2 separate regions of the Homo sapiens genome follow, and region 1 is linked to region 2. The links are contacts of gene promoters, found by promoter capture Hi-C in blood cells and fetal thymus (Javierre and others, 2016). All regions are on one chromosome and are shown on one strand. Each heading gives the region's core, a stretch centred on a gene start or on the middle of the fragment in contact. The rest is flanking DNA. Distances are from core to core; before and after follow the strand shown. Region 1 has its middle 500 kb from the start of CCDC85A. Region 2 holds the start of CCDC85A (coiled-coil domain containing 85A).

What was found. The method cuts DNA at HindIII sites, captures the fragments that hold promoters and counts their contacts. A CHiCAGO score of 5 or more calls a contact.
Region 1: a contact is called between a fragment that was not itself captured here and the fragment with the promoter of CCDC85A in region 2, in 1 of 17 cell types (endothelial precursors). The highest score is 5.2, in endothelial precursors.

The regions. Positions count from the first base shown.
Region 1 is chr2:56,683,209-56,688,512 of GRCh38, forward strand. No RefSeq gene overlaps it. Among named protein-coding and RNA genes, the nearest start is that of CCDC85A, 500 kb to the left of the region's middle. The HindIII fragment of the contact is 1,871 bases long and covers 1,657-3,527 here.
Region 2 is chr2:56,181,572-56,186,272 of GRCh38, forward strand. It overlaps CCDC85A (coiled-coil domain containing 85A), which reads left to right and starts at 2,419. Exons shown (of 6, transcript NM_001080433.2): 1 at 2,419-3,329. The coding sequence starts at 3,054. LOC100129434 (a long non-coding RNA gene) reads right to left here and starts at 4,199. Exons shown (of 3, transcript NR_125368.1): 1 at 4,127-4,199. RefSeq lists a silencer at 2,089-2,418. The HindIII fragment of the contact is 6,654 bases long and covers 1,806-4,701 here.

The DNA of each region.
Region 1 (5,304 bases), core at 1,342-3,841, 500 kb after region 2:
TTTACAAGAAAAAAACAAACAACCCCATCAAAAAGTGGGCGAAGGACATGAACAGACACTTCTCAAAAGAAGACATTTATGCAGCCAAAAAACACATGAAAAAATGCTCATCATCACTGGCCATCAGAGAAATGCAAATCAAAACCACTATGAGATATCATCTCACACCAGTTAGAATGGCAATCATTAAAAAGTCAGGAAACAACAGGTGCTGGAGAGGATGTGGAGAAATAGGAACACTTTTACACTGTTGGTGGGACTGTAAACTAGTTCAACCATTGTGGAAGTCAGTGTGGCGATTCCTCAGGGATCTAGAACTAGAAATACCATTTCACCCAGCCATCCCATTACTGGGTATATACCCAAAGGACTATAAATCATGCTGCTATAAAGACACATGCACATGTATGTTTATTGCGGCATTATTCACAATAGCAAAGACTTGGAACCAACCCAAATGTCCAACAATGATAGACTGGATTAAGAAAATGTGGCACATATACACCATGGAATACTATGCAGCCATAAAAAATGATGAGTTCATGTCCTTTGTAGGGACATGGATGAAATTGGAAACCATCATTCTCAGTAAACTATCGCAAGAACAAAAAACCAAACACCGCATATTCTCACTCATAGGTGGGAATTGAACAATGAGATCACATGGACACAGGAAGGGGAACATCACACTCTGGGGACTGTGGTGGGGTGGGGGGAGGGGGGAGGGATAGCATTGGGAGATATACCTAATGCTAGATGACGCGTTAGTGGGTGCAGCGCACCAGCATGGCACATGTATACATATGTAACTAACCTGCACAATGTGCACATGTACCCTAAAACTTAAAGTATAATAAAAAAAAAAAAGAAAAAAAAAACACTGTACACTTAGGCTATACTAATAAAAAATTCTTTCTTTAATGATAAAAAAAGAATAGATATTTTCTTAATTTTCTTATAAATAAACATAGGTTCTGTATGTTGTTTAAAACTGGAGTTGTCTGAAAAATATTTAGCACACATAAAAGTAAAAGAAAAAGGAAGCCCATTTCAGGAAGTATTAATTAAAATTGGCTTTGTAATAACCATGAAATTCACTTTCTTGCTTGATGGAGATACAGAACTTTTGATTTGAGTCATACGGACAATCTAGGATGTTGTGAGGGAGTACAGAAAGTATGCACCTGAAATGTAATAAACTTAGAAAGAAAAGATCTCTACTGACAAATCACTTTTATTTGACACCTCAGTGGTGAACACTGAGCTCTGACAGATTTGAAATTAGCATGTGAATTCATTTTGGTAAGTGAATAGGGAAACATTGTTTTGTCACACAATGATGATCTATTGAAGAAAGCAACCATTCTACCAGAAAACTTGCTTTCTTTGATGTATATGTATTCAATGGGGCAGAGCTTGACAGCTGCTTTATTTAGGAAAAAACACCATTAATACTGAAATTCTTAATGTATAGCTGCAACTGGTTTTTAGAGTCAAACATGGGCCCAATTTGAGCTAATATTGGTACAAAGACCCTGTAGCTCTCATTGCCGGACTACTTTACATAGTCTATAGGAATAGCTGTGTGATTTGACTCTATTCTGGGAGCTGGCTTTGATCAGAAATAATTTCTGTCATATAAACAATATTTTGATAAGCTTCCTATATTCCATGTTTGTACTATGATGATAGTTCATCCCCTTGGAATTATCAGTAGGATAATTGGGTCCTGAAGACCTGCTCAATTAGTGTTTTCTTTTATGAGGCACTCTATCCCTTGGAAAGCAGGGGCATTTACTACTCAATGCAGAACCTGAGACAAAGCATTACAAATCATAACTTATAATAACAAATGCTAATATTAAGATATTACAATTCATCCGTCAAAGGTCTATTTTTCAAAGATGGCTTTTTTTTAAGGCTTTGGTTTTTCTCCTTGGCAAAGTGAAGGCCTCTTCCCCATACTGGGCTCTAACATCCTCCAGGGTGGAGCACTGACATGAGACAGTCGGAAAAAGCCATGTGACTACCCCGGTCTGAGGGGCTATTTGCCTTGTAGCTTTTAAAAGCAAGGTCAGAGTTTCTGTCACTATTTTCACAGTTGGACTCCAACTTGAGATTCACAGAACAAATCACAGGAGGCAACCACAACCAAGTCTTGTTCTCCGTGTACTGGCCTCTGCCTGAGGCAGCCATTTTGTCAGTGTCTGCATTTTACCTCCTCTCAATACATAGCGGGGAGAATAGTTGCTGCTAAATGAGTTCATAAAAATTCAAAGGCAGTTGACAGAAAAAATAGTTGGTCAAAAGAAGGAAAATTTATGATAAGAGTTTATTTGCAAAATGAAAAAAAAACCTGGGCTTTCACTTTCCAGGAAAATTTGTGAAGTGCTGTTTTCTTTGACTGATACATCATTACCTTAAGCGAAATTGAGGAATTGAAGCAATTCTGTAAACATTATAGGCAAAGCCGTCAATCAGGGTTTTACCTCATATACAGAAATAAACTCTTTTGTGTGTGTGTGTGTGTATAGATAATTTAATTTTTGCCTTTTGAATAATTAATGTGAAAGCTCCTGTTTTAACCCAGTTCAGGTTTTGGTTTGCTTCTGTCACATTTGTGGCAAGTGCTTTGTTACAATTGGAAAGTGGTTTTTGCTCACTTTTTCTTGTACTCCATTTATAAGTCAAACTCAAAGGAATGTATTTTTTAGCAAGTAACCAGAGACACTCTGAAAATCGAAAAGATGAAATAACTGCTAAAGACTGAGGGAGTCAAGGGGTGTTCTGATAACCTGTAGCTCCCAGGGCAGACATTAGGGCTGTCCTGACTGGTCCACTTACCACCCCCTTCAAAACTGCAAGCCTCCTGTCTGCCAGGCCAGAGAGAAAGACAAGACAAGTAAAGGAGAAGGTTACACAAACATATGGGAGGGTAAAGAGAACATCAAAATCATAATGTGATGGGCGTGCAATGGAATTTGGAGTCCACTGGTTCAGTATTTCTTAAATCATTATCTGAGGGCTGCCTGGAAGAATTACCACTCCTCTCCACTGAATCAGGCTTCATGCAGTTGTAGGCCTAGGTACAAGCACACCAGGGAATTTTAAAATACATGTTAATAGTTGCAAATCACTGATACTGATCCAATGTTTCTTTAAAAACTATTGATTTAATTTGGTCACATCATCATCAATATCATAATGGATAGAGTTTATTGATAATTTAGATTTGCAGGGCACTGTGCTTTGTAAGATTTACCTTTAACCTTTGCAATAATCTATAAATTAGAGTCACATAAGCTATTGCAAGTAAAAGGAAATATCAGAGGAACTTTTCCAAGTTTTACAACAGTTAGTTAGGGACAGAATCGGAATTAAATCTGTCTTCTGACTCTAGAGTCTTTACTCTTGAATGCTTTGTAGATTAAAAAATATGCTTTCTGTAGAGACTCTAAAGTAGGGTGAATAAATAGGAAATGTTAAAAAAATACCATTAACTTGAATACCTGAAAGATAGTCTGGAAAGCTTAATCTCATCTAGTCTGTTGTATTAACAGAAATGTTGGAGTTGGTCACGAGGTAGAAAAAAGGAACATGGGGATATGGAACATAAAATAAGACCATCCTAAATTCTCTAAAAATTTCCTAAGGAACTTGGAATCTGCATTGGCAAATGACAAGTGAAGAATAGTAAAGAGTCTTTTGAGTGATTGGGAAAGATAATTTTAGTTCCAAATTTAGAATTCGCATTTTCTTAATATTCTTTCCATTCACTTTGTTAGGTTCCACTCTGTTTGCTGAAAGTACCTGGCGTAATACTACATCACAGGGTTAGATTTTAAAAAAAATATTTGCATTAGGCCATAAAATAGTCCTACTGCCCTGAGATGATTAGTGTGCAGCAGATCCAGCACAAAATGGTTCAAATAGTTCAAAGGAGTCATAGCTTAATATGAGCATAGTTTTGATTTAACTCTTCCTATAGATATGCCCTCTGTTCAAGGACCTTATGCTTTTATAATGTATGTGACATCATCAGTACATGTTTATCATAGAACTTTGTGATAAGTCCTTTGTGTCATTCCAGGGCTTTTGCAGCTAAGTCTTGTTGAGTGCCAAGGAAACTAGTTGTAAAATTGAATCTGACAGCTGTTAATATTCCTATTCACTGAAAAAGTGCATTCCGTTAGCATAAGTCACATAGGATACTTTGTGAAAGGGTTTCATGATCACAGACATTTTGGAAATTCCATATGATACTCCACTCCTTGCAAATTTACAATGCATACTTCAGTGTATTACAAGTTAGGAGAAATTCTTTGTGAAATTAATTTTATCTTTGCTAAATCCAGAATTTCACAAGTTTATTTCACATAGAACTCTTTTCTGCACATATTTCGTATATAATGTGGAATTAATATTCAATTAAATACCAGATGGGAAAAACTGTATTGGTGTTTTAATATAAAAATAAAGTATTTGTTGGAGTATAATACTACCTCCTTCCTCTCTTTCCTGTCTTGCAATTAATTATAAAAAGTCATCTTTCTAGCTCTTCAGATTTATCATGATGTCTTGATAGACAAGAAGCCTCTTTAGGTCCTGTGGAAACAATGATAAGACTGCATTTTAGAGAATATTTTATTCAGGGAATGTGTAAATGGAACATTTAAAAATATAAAAGATTTGCAAGATCATCATGAAATTATACCAAAATACATTTAATATATGCTTTGTTAGTAAATGCTATATTAAACAGTGGCCTGTGCTGGAATGAATTACTGTCATAAGTCATAAGAAAGACCTGGTTTCAAACCATAGCTCTCCACAATGTTATTTTATGCCCTGGGACGATTTCTCTAACCTCCTCATTTGTAAAATGTGGTTGAAAATGACTAATTTATAGGTGTGTGAAGAGGGTGTGGATGTATTCTATGTAAAACACCTTGAGAGAAAAAAATTATAGAAGTGAAAATATAAAAAGACAATGAGGCCAGCTGATATTTTACTTAATATAAGTATATTTTTCTTTTATGTGTGTATAAAACATGTTTTATTATATTAAACATAAAAGTTGTTTCTACATTCTACTAAACACCCTGATGAAAAATTAAAACAAAATTAACCAATCACTGCTAATTATGTAGACAACCAGATGTTTGACGTTGAATAGATAAACATCTGGTTCACAAATTTAGTTTTTTACTTTTCATATGCAAGTTGGGATGATGCTGATTGATGTATATTTCTGTAAAAATTTTTCAAAGTAACAGGCATGTGACTGGTACAAAATAAATAAGG
Region 2 (4,701 bases), core at 1,169-3,668:
TGAAGATACCATACCAGCCCTCAGCTGCCTCTCTTTAGAATACCAGGTAGGTGAGAAAAAATAAATGACTTTTTTAAAGTGACTGTTTTTTGAGTTTCTGTTTTTAGCAGTCAAATGAAGCTCCTGACACCATACATGACCTTAGCAACATGAAGCAACATTATTCATTCATGCAGATAATTATTATTCTGAATCAATGACCAAAATTAGAAACATGAAAACCTTAAGGTGATCTAGCTCAACTGTAATCCACTGCTAGTGTATATAATTTGTGGAGACTTTTTTTTTTTTTTTGGCTTTCCTTCTTCCTTGTCTTCCCAACACAAGTCTAATTTTTCCTCTCAGCCATCTCTCTGATTTCTCATATCTATTTGGTGTTAACTGATCAGAGGGAGTTAGCAGAGAAGGGGGCTGGCTGTTTCATTTTAGAATACGACTCTTGAAGAACCCGTGATGGAGGAATAAACAGAAGTCCTGGTTCCTATTTCTAGACAAGAGGCTGCCCAATGTAATATGTAATATCAGTAATAGTAAGGTTGCATTTCTGTAGGGTGGCTCGATCAAGCGCTTCTTGTATACCATATCATTAGCTGCCCGAGGGCCAGTAAGGTCGGATGGTTTGTTCAAGGACAAGAACTAACAAGTAACAGAGATAGGACTTATCTTTTTCTGACCTTCACTTTCCCTTTCTGTGACAAAACTGGTCTTAGGAACTGTGTTGAGCAGAGCCTTCTGTGGGCGTGAGAGCGGCTTGGAGGTGTCAAAGAAAAATTGCATCCGATATAGTTAAACAGACAAGGGGGAATTATTCAAGGCTATTGCAATAGGGAAGAGAGAGAGGGAGGGAGAGGGGAACTAGTAGAAGACTAGTGGAGGAGATTAGGATGGGAAGTTGGTCAGTGTAATGAGGCCATTTGTGTTTCCTAATTGGAACTTATTAAAGTTAGGCTCCTCCTCTCCACAAACACTAGGAGATAGGGACCCTTTTTTCCTTGATGATTACATTTCAAAGGGATGCCTCACAGATCCCTGAGAAAGATCCCCAGGCTGTAAAACCCAGCAAGAGGCGGAGAGATTTACATGTCAAAGGGTCAGAGGAAACATTCACCAATGGAAGTTGGCTAAAGTAAATGCTCTGAGAAAAGGAAGGTCTGGGGCCTACAGTTAGGAAGAAACCTGTCTAAAGTTTAGTTAAGCTGAGGGGAATGTTAAGGCCATTTGGTCACCGTAAGCAGTACCACATTTCCTTGCCTCTCCCGGGAGCCAGGTCTCAGTGTCCCCAATAGGGGACACGCACTGACCGGCGGGTGAAGGGACTGATTTTGATTATCATCCTACCAGATAGAGATTATTCCCTCTGCACCCGGGTTAACTGAAACCCGGTGGGGGTAGATCCTTGCCATTTTCCGGCCCTGTACCCCACTGGAAATAACATGCGGTGGTCAAGGGCATCCACCTCTTTAGGCAAAAGCATGTTTTCAGCCCAGAGACGATTCCACCCAACTTTACAAGAGGATAGCCCAAAGATAGAAGCCAGGGACTCAGACTTCCTCCTTCCAGAAATAACCATCATAAAAAAGCCGACCCAGTAAACGCCTGGCAGCCTGCGGCATAGAAGAAAATGGAAATCTCCTTGGCTGGCATTTCAGCTTGCCTGAGGGGGCTTGCTTTGCTCCGAGGGGAGGTGACTGTGCTGACCTTAAAATCCAGGTTTCAGGAAGCAGGAGATGAAGGTATTTTATTTTCGCCTAAAGGCTTTGATATTTTTCAAATAAAAATTTAAAAGATCCAGTACCTTCTCCCGAAGCTTCTTCATAGAGTAGTGGATTTTTAGAAAACACAAAGGCCTAGGGGTGGGGCGAGAGTGGGGGGTGGGGATGGGTAGCCCCATAAGAGCAGTGCCCTGACGCCTCTTTTCGCCCTTTTCAGACCATTTGGATTTTCTTAAGCTGCCCCTTTCCCCAACCCCCGTTTTTGCCATTTGCCTCTCCTCCCATTCTCCAAAGTGCAAATAACTGGTTATCCCTCAGGTCCTGCTACCCCATCTTTCCTGATCCCCGATCCCTCCAAATACGAAGCACCTCGCATTTGGGTCAGCAGCTGTTTCCCCTGCCTGGTGACAAGGCCGGTGTGCAGAGGGCAGAGGAGGGAGCTTCTTCCGCCACACGGTGGCGCGCGCGAGCCTCCCAAAGACCGGGCGGCCACAGCTCCTCACCTTCTCCCCATTCCAGCCCCACCCGCCCGGGCGCAGAAAGAGCCGCGCCCCCAGCCCTCCCGGGCAGGACAGCCGGGAGCGCACCTCGAGGGCCCGGGCAGCGGTCGAGTGGCAGCTGCGTCCAGCCCATGCGGGAGCTGCTGCGGGTTACGGGTGGCCCCAGCTCCAGGCTCCTCCTCCAGCCGGTCCCCCACCCTCCACCCCTTCTCGACTCCGCTCTGCAAATCGAAGGCTTTCCGGAGCAGCCTAGGAGCGGCCGCGGGCGCAGCGAAGGCGGCAGGAGGAGCGCAGCAGCCTTCGGGCAGCCGCGGCGGCGTCGCTAGAGCAGCCGGGGAGGCGCCGCGGTGCCCGGCGCGCCCTCCAAGCTAGGAGAGGGGAGAAGCCGGGGGCTGCAGCTGGGCAAGGGGGAGGAAAGTGCGTGTGCGTGCACGCCTGTGTGCAGGGCAGAGAGTGCGGGGGGCGACAGTCTCGGCTTAGGGCGGAGGAGAGGGCAGGGGAACGGCGGTGCAGCTCCCCCGCTGTCCCCGAGGATTTCCCGCGGCAGCCCCGGGCTCCCCAGTGCCCCTCACCATGGACTTGCGCGGAGTTGGGACGGGCCTCGGCAGCAGCAAGCGGCTGGCTGCCGGGCCCTGGGGGAGCGCGGGCGCGCGCGCGGGGATGGCGAGGTAGGATGGCCACCCAGCGCGACCCCCGCCGCCCCAACCCAGCGGCCCCTGGGCGGTGCCGCTGACTCGCCGGAGCGCACAGGGGTGTGGGCGGAGGCGGCCTCGCCGCGCCCGCGCCTTCGGGAGTCGCCTCGCCTCTTCCACCCACTTGCACCTGCCACCCCGCGGATACCATGTCGAAGGCGGCCGGAGGCGCGGCGGCGGCTGCGGCGGCGGCGGAAAGTTGTTCCCCAGCCCCGGCCGGCTCGTCCGCGGCCCCGCCCGCGCCGGTGGAGGACCTGTCCAAAGTGTCGGACGAGGAGCTGCTGCAGTGGAGCAAGGAGGAGCTGATCCGCAGCCTGCGGCGCGCCGAGGCGGAGAAGGTGAGCGCGATGCTGGACCACAGCAACCTCATCCGCGAGGTGAACCGCCGCCTGCAGCTGCACCTCGGCGAGATCCGCGGCCTCAAGGTGAGCGCGGGCCAGGTGGGGAGGCGCGGCGCGGCTGGGAGCGGGGTGCCCCGAGGAGGAGGCGGGGCCAGGCAAACTTTCCCTCCCTCCCTCAACAGGTGACCCTCCCCTTCTCCCGGTCGGCACCCCCTACCCCCAGTCCCCAGCCCCTGTGTAACTTTTCCAAACTTCGGAGGCGTCTGCTCCCCTCCTCTCCCCAACACGGGGCGCTCCACTGTCTGGCTGTTCGGGGAGGCGCTGAGGACGCTGGAAAGCAGGGAGGGAGGTGAAGGGCACGCGAACCTTTCATTTCTTAGGGAGGCTGGAAAATCTGTGCCTGGGGAGCCGGGTTTCAGTCAGTTAGGCGGAAAGGCCAGTGAGGGGGTGAATCCAGGGGATCTTCGCCTTGGAGGGTCGGGAATGCGGCTGCTCTGGGCCAGCAGCTCTTGGGCGGGCAGAGGGCGAGGAAAGGGCGCCACTGCCAGGGAGAGCGGCTGGCGGGGCGCCCGGGAGAAGCAGCGGGCGCCACCCTCAGAGCAGTCTTGTGTCACCGGGTACATAGGAGTTCAAGCTCTGCCTTCACGTCTTCTCCCAATTCCTGTGCTTTCCCTCTCCCGGAGTTTGGAAGGCATCCCCTGGAGTTGCCTTACTCCCCTTCCCACTTAACCCCAGGTTGACTGGGGGAAAGAGGAGGAGCAAAGAGACTCAGTATGGAAGGAGCAGCATTTTGACAGAGTACCCCAAGTGTTGGTCAGTGATGGTTTCTTTCTGAGCCAGCCCCCCTGCCACCCTCTTCTAGGAAAAGAAGGGAAACGTACCCCAAGCCCACTAACTTTCTTTTCTCCTTGGAGAGCGCCGGGTCTGCGAGGAGTGTGCCTGCCCAGCTGCAGTACACTAGTGGCCGGGAACCGCCCTGCTGGCGAGCACCACAAACTTCCTCTCCTTCCAGCTAGCGCTGGTGCCTCCTGGTATTCCTTCCTCTCATTGTTCTGCTTTGTTTGTAGGAAGCCAGACACAAACGAAATCACTGCAGGGACTTCAGGGAGCAAATTCCCGAAGGCACAAGCTGTTCTTTTCCCCTTTCCACTCCTATCCCCACATATCAGACAGTAGATGCTGTTCCGGAATTGCCTCAGTGCTCCAGCTCTGGGATTCTGGGGCAAGAAAGAGTGGGAAGAGTGGAATGCTCAAGGCTCACCTATGTGCTGGGCCCAGTTCAGGTGGAGATGGCCGTCTCCCGAGGCCGAAAGTCATTGTCATATAGTCCCTAGAGTGGGTGCAGGTAGGAAGATTCCTCCAGTCAGAAAAATGCCAAGGCTTACTCTCTCCTGTGGTTGAATTCATTACTAACAGAGTGTTTATTAAGTGCCAGTCTCTTTGGGGAATAGAGGCA